2 separate regions of the Homo sapiens genome follow, and region 2 is linked to region 1. Evidence: promoter capture Hi-C in 16 types of primary human blood cells and fetal thymus (Javierre and others, 2016). All regions are on one chromosome and are shown on one strand. Each heading gives the region's core, a stretch centred on a gene start or on the middle of the fragment in contact. The rest is flanking DNA. Distances are from core to core; before and after follow the strand shown.

Region 1 (4,800 bases), core at 1,072-3,571:
CTACTGAAAATACAAAAAAATTAGCCGGGCGTGGTCGCGGGCGCCTGTGGTCCCAGCTGCTCAGCAGGCTGAGGCAGGAGAATGGTGTGAACCCGGGAGGTGGAGCTTGCAGTGAGCCGAGATCGTGCCACTGCACTCCCAGCCTGGGCGACGGAGCGAGACTCCGTCTCAGAAAAAAAAAAAAAAAGGCTGAAACTAGGAGGGAGAGAGGTGCTCTAAGAAAGACAGGATGCAGTTGTTGAGCCCCCAACCCCTTCCTGTTTAACTGAAAAGCTGACCCTGAGCTAGGAGGCAGGGTCCAGGCACAAATGGAGGCTGTGACCAGGACTGAGCTGCCTATTCTCTGCCTTTCCTACCTGGCTACAGATCGTTCAGAAAGAGGCAGAGCGGGCCGAACGGGCCAAGGAGCGGGAGAAGCGGCGAAAGGAGCAAGAAGAAGAAGAGCAAAAGGAGCGGGAGAAGGAAGCCGAGCGGGAACGGAACCGACAGCTGGAGCGAGAGAAACGTCGGGAGCACAGTCGGGAGAGGGACAGGGAGAGAGAGAGAGAAAGGGAGCGGGACAGGGGGGACCGAGATCGGGATAGGGAAAGGGACCGAGAACGAGGCAGGGAAAGGGATCGCAGGGACACCAAGCGCCACAGCAGAAGCCGGAGTCGGAGCACACCTGTGCGGGACCGGGGTGGGCGCCGCTAGCTGGGAAAACACTAGAGCTGCAGGTACCAGCCACTCGGCCCCAGGGGGTTATGGCCACAGAGGGATAGGCACAGTCTCCACCACCCTGGAGCCAAGGGTCTTTCACATCACCTATCCCTACATACATACCAAATGGAAAAGTGGCCATCCTTTTCCCCCCAAACACACCCCCTTAACCTATCTCTTGGGACTTAGCCCGACCCTCCCTCTCATTTCCCATTAAGTCTGAGAGGCAAGAGCTAGGTTAGGCAAGGAGGTGGTTGGCCAGAGATGGGGAACAGCCAGGTGCCCCAGTCCTCTGATTTTTCCTCCATCCTGCTTACCACCTCCCTGGGTACTTACAGCCTTCTCTTGGGAACAGCCGGGGCCAGGACTGGGTCACCTATGAGCTGAATCAGCATCTCCTCCTGAGTCCCAGGGCCCCTGCAGTTCCCAGTCTCTTCTGTCCTGCAGCCCTTGCCTCTTTCCCACAGGTTCCACTTTATATCCACCTTTTCCTTTTGTTCAATTTTTATTTTTATTTTTTTTATTATTAAATGATGTGGTCTATGGAAAAAAAAATAAAAATCTGACTTAGTTTTAAACTGTGTGAGTGGCTTTCTTTGGGCAGGTTAAGAAGCCACTGTGGATATCTGAGCGTGGACATCTGAGGATATCTGGAGTAGGAGTTGCTCTCATTCCATGTGTTCCTTTAGGCTGACTGCTTCCTGCTTATTGAACTTCCCACGTCTTTTATCCCCTGCCTTGGCCCTGACCAACCCAAAGCTGTGGACCTTCCTCATTCGGGAAGGCATGGAGCAACCTGTGTCCGTGGCGGCACCCCAGCAGGGCTAGGAGGGTGGGTCCTCTTCTGGTTCCTGGTCCTGTGCACGGTTAAATTAGGGGTTTGGTCACCTGCCTGCCACCTTGGTGCCTCCCACAACTACCACCAGGGGGCGGCAGCTCCTCGCTCTGTTGGCCCCTGTAACCGAGCTTCCCAAGAAGGGTTCCACTGCCCGCCTCCGACCTCCCGCCGATGTCGTGCCTCTGTTCCCGACCCGCTCCCTGGGCCCGGGCCTCGGACTCTCTGGACCCTTCTGCCGTCCTTAAGTGTCCCCCAGCTGACCTGCTACCGTGCTTTGCATGGGCTCTCAAAACGCCGCCGCCTTGCAGCTGGGATTCCATCCACACCAGTCCCAAAAGCCAGCCGGGAACCGGGAGCCCGGAGCCGGGTCTCTCCGCAGTGGGCTCCGAATTCCCCACCTCACCGCGCGCTCGCCCGTTTTCCGCTGCGGGCGGGGACTGGCAGCTTCGCGCTCCCGGGTGCACCCGCCCCGCCAGCTCTTCGGAAATGGCCTGGCGCCGTGGCCTGGACGTCCTCCCGCCCGAGTGCCCTGCCGGGCGCTGCGGGCCCGGTCCGGGAGGGGCGCCGCATCTGTATGCGCCCCGCAGCCCAGGAGCGCCGAGGGGGCGGACGCGCGGCGCCGCCTCCGCCCCCGCCCCCGCCGCGCGGGCCCGGCTGGCCGGGGAGGGTCGGAGGCTGGGCTCTCCTCTCCCGCGCGGCGCGGAGCCGCCTCGCTCCTCCGCAGGCGGAGTCTTCTTCCCCCGCCCCCTCCGTCTCGCTCCCTTGTTCTCGCCGGGGCCGCTCAGACCTGCAGCGGAGCCGCGGCGCCCGCTCCAATCGGCTCGGGGCTGTGCCCCCGGGACCCGGCGACGGGGGCGGGCGGGGGCGCTTCCCGCCGGCCTGGGCCCCTCGGCAGTGCCAGGTAAGGGCGCCTGCCCCGGAGCAGGGGTCGGGAATCCGCGGAGGGGTAGGAGGGGGCCCGCAGCCTGCGGGGGTCTTCGGAGGGGTGCGCTCCGTGGCTGGGAGCCCGCTGCCGGCTCCCTTCTCCCGCGCTCTGCCTCTTTCCCTTCTCCCCTCGCACCTCTCTCCCTCTTTCTTCTCTCGATTTCTCTTCACCCTTCCTTCTCTGCCTGTTTGCCTTCCTTATCCCTTCCCTCTGTCTCCCCAACCCTTCCCTCTCCCTCTTGTCCTTTTTCCATCTCCTCTCCCTCTTTGCCTTTTTCTTTCTCTACCTTTCTCCCCTTTCCTGCCTTTCTCTTTTCTCTTTCTTGCTCTCCTTTCCCTCCCTCTCCTCTCCCCTTCCTGCTATCCTGTTTCCCACTCCTCTATCCCCTTCCTTCTCGCCTCCTCATCCCGCCTTCTCTCTGGTCCCCAGCCTTCCTCCGGTTTCCCCCTTCCCTCGGGAGCAAAGGGACTGTCAGGTGTGTGTCTGCTCTGAGGGAGGAGGGGCAGAAGCCACAGCTACCTGAGGGGTCCTCCCCCCCGCCCCTAGGAGAAAGGAGAGCAGTGGGAAGGGTCTCCTCTCTAGCTCCCTTCCCGTGGCCCCTCCCTGCCTCCACCCCTCCTGTCTGCTCCTTCTCCCAGAATTAAGTTCCCGAGGCCTGGCTTGACACCCCCGAAGCTGAGGTCTGCCCCTGCCTGCCCGGAACTGCCCCCGGTGACCCGTTTCCAAGCCTGGCCCCTAGGACTCCTCTCTGCCTTCAGACACCCAGGCTGCTGCCCTGGTCTCTCTCATTCTGTCTCTTGCCACTGTTCTGTTTCTGTCTCTCATCCAGTCATTTCTCTGCCGGACAGTCCCTGAGTCAGTCTAGCCGTCAGTCATTATCTGTCTCTAGCCTCTGGGTGGACCTCTCTCCCCGGTCACCTCCCCCTGTCCCCCACCCTGTATCCTCTTCCTTCAGCTCTGGCTCCCAACTCCTGTCTCACGAGCCCAGTCCCCCTTCAAGGACTGCACTGGCAGCGTGGGCTGGAGACAGGGCCTGGAGAGTGGGGCTCCCCCTTGTGGGGAGGGACTTTCACAGACTCTCAGCCCTGCCTGAGGCTGCACTCCTTGTCATCTCATGCTGACCCTAGACACCTTAAGGCCACACCTCCATGAATCCCAACTCCGTAATTTTAAGCCCTTTCTCTGGTAGCCCCGCCTCCTCCAATACCTGGCTACGTGCCCAACCTGGGAGGACAGAGACCAGATTTGGGATTCCAAGCCCTCCCAGCATCCCCTCTCCTGTGTTCCTCCCCAGTTCTCTACTCAGAGTTGACTGACCAGAGATTTATCAGCTTGGAGGGCTGGAGGTGAATACATGCAGAGCCTGGGTGGAGGAAGGATCAGCCTCTCTGCTCTCTGTCTTAGTCTGAGTTCTGGGCAGTGGAGTGTCTGGTTCCTTGGAGGTCTGGTCTTCAGCATCTAATTTTGCGGGGGAGGAGGGCTAGGGGTTTCCTTGAGCCTGAGCAGCTGCTTGTCCTGCAGGTGTGGATCCATGGGGTAGCCTCAACGCATCTGCCCCTCCACCCCAGCCAGCTCATGGGCCACGTGGCCTGGCCCAGCCTCAGCACCCAGGGCCAGTGAACAGAGCCCTGGCTGGAGTCCAAACATGTGGGGCCTGGTGAGGCTCCTGCTGGCCTGGCTGGGTGGCTGGGGCTGCATGGGGCGTCTGGCAGCCCCAGCCCGGGCCTGGGCAGGGTCCCGGGAACACCCAGGGCCTGCTCTGCTGCGGACTCGAAGGAGCTGGGTCTGGAACCAGTTCTTTGTCATTGAGGAATATGCTGGTCCAGAGCCTGTTCTCATTGGCAAGGTAAGGATGACCCCTCCCATGTCTACTCTGACACCAAGCCCTCAGGCCCTGCCCTGCAACTTCATCACTTCTGCAATGACCTTGGTCCCTCAGGACTCCCAACGCTCTACCCAAACCTAGACTCTTTAACCCTGTCTCTGTACTTGGAGCCCTCTGCCATCTTTTCGTGACCCCTGCAGCTGCACTCGGATGTTGACCGGGGAGAGGGCCGCACCAAGTACCTGTTGACCGGGGAGGGGGCAGGCACCGTATTTGTGATTGATGAGGCCACAGGCAATATTCATGTTACCAAGAGCCTTGACCGGGAGGAAAAGGCGCAATATGTGCTACTGGCCCAAGCCGTGGACCGAGCCTCCAACCGGCCCCTGGAGCCCCCATCAGAGTTCATCATCAAAGTGCAAGACATCAACGACAATCCACCCATTTTTCCCCTTGGGCCCTACCATGCCACCGTGCCCGAGATGTCCAATGTCGGTGAGCACCCCAGCTCTG
Region 2 (5,071 bases), core at 154-2,653, 57 kb before region 1:
CCTCAGAGATCTCATCTAAACTCATTTTGCAGGTAAGAAAACAGGCTGCAAAGAGGGGAAGGGACTTACCTGGAGTCACACGATTGTTTAGAGGTAGAACCAAAATTGGCTCTGTAAAATCGCAGATCTCAAGATGTGCTGGGAGAGACCTCAAGAGATCATCTGGTGGGCTCTGCCCTCAGACCAGCAAGGTAGGGTGAGCCACATTTTACAGATAAAGCAGTTGAGGGCCAGAGGGGTAAGAGGCTTCTCCTGACACTCACTGAGTCCCTTTGCTGCCTCAGTACGTGGTACCTGTCTCTCTACTCCACGCTACACTCTTCTCACAGATCCTCAGTACGAGTGTCACATGAATCACATTCAATAAAGAACAGTGCCCAACAGTGTCAGGGACCCAGGGACAGATTACGGGCTTCTTAAAGTCTCTCCTAAGCCAATGCTGTGAAAGGCTGAGTCAGACATCAAGGAATAATTTTCTGAGAAGGTGAGAGACTGGTGTCTGGATCATCCCAGATCTCTCTCCCTTCTTCAAATCTCCAGCGGTAGAGCCCTCCCACACCTCGGGCATCCGTGTGCGGCATGTCTACCTTGCCCAGGACTCAGTCCTTTTCCTGCCTTTGCCTCTGTGTCTCTCGGGCACCTCTGTGTCCTGGAGGCCCGTGCCCCAGGTCTGGTTTGGAGGGAGAGATCTGAACCTTCAGTGGAGGGACCGACTGGAGCTTCCTGAGTTCAGAAGGAGGGGAGGTACCAGTCTCTGTGGGCACCTGGGAGAATCCTCACACCTTCCTTTCAGCCCAGGGGGATAGGTTGCATAAGGGGGGTTTGTACAGAACATGGTAAATGACTCAACCTCCGGATTTCCTCCTCTCAGCTCAAGACCACTGTCCCTTGACTTACTTTCAAGGTTCTGGGTGATGGGACCTGGGTTGCTTCAGCATGAAGCCCAGGCTTTGTTCCCACAGCTCTGAATTGCTTCTCCTCTCAGGCCCCCGCTCACCCAGTCAGGTCCTCAGGGCCGGTGCCTAGTGGAGCCTTCCTGACTGGCACCCAGTCTGGGGGAGTCACATCCCCGTCTCCCCACTGTGATCCCAGCGTGACGTGCAGCAGCTGAACACATCCCAATCCTCTGCATCAGATCATATTCCAGGGGTGTGAGTCAGAGCCAGAGGGCACACTTCCTGAAAGAGGCTTTCAATCTGACCTCAATTGGTTTTGGCCAACGTAACTTATTCAACAAGTATTTGTTGAGTATCTTTTCTAGGAATGAGACAAGTTCTCAGCAGAAGGAGTAGGAAGAAAAAGTCAATAAACAAGTGTGCTGAATGTCTTCCTTTGCCCCTCCAGAACCCTCTCCACCCTTCATCACCCTACACAGTCCCCAGGTGGATGCCTCCCTACATCAACCAGCCTCTCATGGGGTGGGGGTGAGACTGGCAGGAGGAGAGTGGTGGGAGCCCCCTGCTGACCGGCGCTCTCCACAGTCCCTCCCAAAGGATTCCTGGCCCTCAGGCGCCCCCCGTGCTGGGCTAGCCCAGGGGACTTCACCACTCCAGGAACTTTCCCCAGATACTGTTGGTTCACATCTTCATAAAGCACCTTAATTAACTTCTCCTGCTTACTCCATTTGAATAGCCCATTGGGGAAACCACATAAACCAACAGGTAGGGAGGCTATTTTAGCTGGGGTGGCCGAGAAAGGTATCTCTGAGGAAGTGACATTTTAGTTGACACTTCAAAAATTTTGAGAAGGAGGCAGGTATGTCTTTGAGTGTAAGGGTGAACAGAGGGAAGGGTAAATGCAAAAGCCCTAAGGTGACCGAGAGAAAGGAAGCCAGGAGTAGATGCTGAATGAAAGAAGGAAGGAGAGGATAAGTAAGAAAAAGATGCACCTTCCCTCCAGAATGGGGCTGCAGGGGTTGCAAATGACTATTTTCATTCCCTCTGTCAAGGAGGATGGTGCCTAAGAAGCCGGGGCAGGTGGAGAGCAGGGTTCTCTCTGCCCCTGGATTCAGCTTCCCTGCCCCTTGGTCCTCCTGGCACCTTTACCACAGTAAGGTTGTCCCCACTGGGGAAGGAGATGACAGAAAGGAGCCCAGGGAAGGGCAGTTAGCCAAACCCTGCCTGGGGAAAGGCACCAGGACCGGGGACTCGATAACGTTTGAAAACCAGCAAATCAAGGTCCAAACAGCACACGCATGCAGTCCTATTGCTTCAGCGCCCACAGCTCAGGCCCACTTTTCTTTCTGGAGCAGAACTGGGGAGCAGAATGAGACTCCTGAGCTGAGAGACAGGATCTTAGGCCACAGGGAAGCTGCAGAGGAGAAGACAGACTGTGGGGAGACACTGCAGAGGGAGGAAGCTGCCCAAGGTGAGTCTGCCAAGGTCAGTCAGCGGAGGCAGTGGCTTGTGAAAGCTGCCCCCAACCCCCCTGCTCGGTGCACACCTCCCCACCCCTCTACACAGATTGCCACATGCCTGGGCCCCCAGGGCCCCCATCCCAGTGTTGCAAGATCCCGGTTGGGGTTGTGGGTGGAAAGGGGCCTCTTCACCTCCACCCCCTGCCGTGCTCCAAGCCAGTGAGGGGACTATGGGATGAAGGGGGCTGTTCAGGAGACGCTGAGGCAACAATAGGCAGGGCTGGCTGAGAGCCTGTGCGTCTCCTCTCGGACAGGCCAGTCACTTCCCATCACCCTCACCAGCACCCCCCACCCCCCGCAGACAGACCCCTCCTCCCGACTCAGCATGAGCTGCTCCAAAATGGGAGTGGCCCAAGCTGGACAGAACCCCTGGCTGACCTCTGTCAGCTGCTTCCATAAGCAGGCCTGGCCTGGCCTCAGAAAACCTCAGTGGCATATGAGAAATTCTCCCCAAGGGGAGAGGGTGTGGGTTTTCAGAGGAAAATGGCTACAACTTAACTTTATCAAAATGGCCATCAATTCTGACTTCAGAGAGCAATGGAAAGGTCCCAGGGCCTGGGAAGGGGCAGGCTTCTTGATAGGGAAAGACCCACCACAGAGCTGTAGCCTCTTGCTTCTCTTTTATTATTTATTTATTTATGTATTTATTTTAGGTCCAGGGACAGACTAGATTTTTCCCTTAGATTTGCTTCCCTTTTAGAAGAAACAGGGTTCTAGGGGTAGGTAGAGGCAAGCCACACATAGAATGGATCCATCCCCTACGCCCCATGAGCTAAGCTTCACCCTGGAGTCCTAAACTGTCCAAACCCCTATTGCTCACCACGCCCCCCCCACCACCACCACCACACACACACCTAGCACTGTCACCCCTGGCCAGGCTATCCAACCTTGCTGCAATCGGGACGGTTTGCAAAACGCCTTCTAGCTCCCGCTTTGTCACCATCTGAGGTTAGGACTGTACTCAGGAGATAAGCTCAGGCCCCACCCGCTCGTCCCCAGCGAGACTGCTGGCCTGCTGCAATCGGGACGGTTTGCAAAACCCCTGCTGGCTGCAGCTCTGTCACCATCTGAGGTTAGGGCTGCACCCTAAGATAAAGCCTAGCTCCTCCCTCCAGCCCTGCCTTCAAACCTCACAGGCAGCATGGTCCCAAGAAACAGAGCTCCTGGGAGCCCACTCAGGGTCTGGAAGCATTACACCAGTGCAAAGACCCCTTCTCCTTGGTCCTCCCCTCACCCCTTCTCCCCTCCATCCCCAGCCTCACCTTTGCATACTGTCCTCATTACCATCCTCTCCTCACTCTCCATCTACTCACCTTCTATCTTCTATCCTCACGCTTCCATCCCTCACCTCCCTCCTGCCTTCTCACCACATTCATTTACTCAAAAAATACATACTAAACACCTACTTGAAGCCAAGCACTTTGTTATAGAAGCTATGGGACACATAAGGAGAACAGTCCCTGCCCTTTGGGGGTTTATAGATTAGTGAGAGTGACAAACATAAGACCACAAACAAATTGTGGGCAGTGTCATCTAGCAAAAGTAAAGGGGTGACTGATGGCCGATATTAACATGGGTATCTGATTTAAATGTGAGGGTCGGGAAAGGCTTCTTTGAAGGGATAACATATCGGCGGATATCTAAATGATGAGTAGGAATTCATCTGGCAAAAAGTGGGGGTTCCCAACAGAAAGAAAAGTACACACAAAGGTTCCCAAGCAGGTCCTTCTCATTCACTGACTGAAGGCTGGGGGTGCAGGGCAAGATGCTGGGAAGAGGCAGAGAGGCTTGAAGAGGCTGAGGCCAGAAGCTCCCTTAGATGGGATTCAGAGCATCAGAGGGAGAACCAGCCTTCCAAGGGAAGAAGACGTCTCCTCTTTTTTAACAAGAAACAGAGGAGATGGCAACAGAATCAAATACAAATAGGTTTGTAGCAAGCCGGGGCTGTTCCTATCTTATGGCTTTTATTTTCACCATGAAAGAAGAGATAACCAAAAGTCACTGAGCAGGAGGGGAGGCTGGAGGTTTGAAAGTATAAAATCCAGCCGGACGCAGTGGCTCACGTCTGTAATCCCAGTGCTTTGGGAGGCTGAGGCGGGCGGATCACAAGGTCAGGGATCGAGACCATCCTGGCTAATACGGTGAAACCCCGTCTCAACTAGAAATACAAAAAATTGGCTGGGTGTGGTGGCGGGCACCTGTAGTCCCAGCTACTCAGGAGGCTGAGGCAGGAGAACGGTGGGAACCCAGGAGGCGGAGTTTGCAGTGAGCTGAGACCGAGCCACTGCACTCCAGCCTGGGCAACAGAGTGAGACTCCATCTCAAAAAAAAGAAAAAAAAGAAAGAAAGTATAAAATCCTAGTTGGTGAGGGTAGAAGAGGGAGCTCATTGCTGAGCTTTCTGACTTGAAAGCGCCCAACTGAAGCTGACGATGACCACTTTAGAGTGACATGTCCTCTGGGATGATTTTGTCCAGTGGTCCTTAGGTGCTTGAGAGCAAGTGCGGAGAAGACAAATGTTAGGTCCATCTAGAGTTGAGACTTAACCAGGGAGATGAGATGGAAAGGACAGACAGGGGAGAGGAGTTGAAGGCATTAACAAAAGGGGATTGCAGTGGTGAGCCTGGAACCTAAGGCAGAGAAGGTGAGATGTGAA

Evidence for each region. Contacts are between HindIII fragments. The CHiCAGO score rates a contact against its expected background, and 5 or more counts as called.
Region 2: a fragment that was not itself captured here is called in contact with the fragment with the promoter of CDH24 in region 1 in 3 of 17 cell types (M2 macrophages, M0 macrophages and M1 macrophages); the score reaches 9.0 in M2 macrophages.

The regions. Positions count from the first base shown.
Region 1 is chr14:23,055,041-23,059,840 of GRCh38, reverse strand. CDH24 (cadherin 24) reads left to right here and starts at 2,321. Exons shown (of 13, transcript NM_144985.4): 1 at 2,321-2,438; 2 at 3,984-4,308; 3 at 4,488-4,782. The coding sequence starts at 4,108. ACIN1 (apoptotic chromatin condensation inducer 1) reads left to right here. Exons shown (of 19, transcript NM_001386863.1): 19 at 367-1,277. The coding sequence ends at 693. It overlaps LOC105370705 (collagen alpha-2(I) chain-like), which reads right to left and starts at 2,181. Exons shown (of 2, transcript NR_169511.1): 1 at 1,799-2,181; 2 at 1,192-1,556. RefSeq lists silencers at 2,092-2,241, 2,322-2,441. The HindIII fragment of the contact is 16,339 bases long and covers 1-4,800 here.
Region 2 is chr14:23,111,245-23,116,315 of GRCh38, reverse strand. No RefSeq gene overlaps it. Among named protein-coding and RNA genes, the nearest start is that of CEBPE, 5.5 kb to the left of the region's middle. RefSeq lists enhancers at 351-1,550, 1,716-2,434. The HindIII fragment of the contact is 3,584 bases long and covers 1-3,195 here.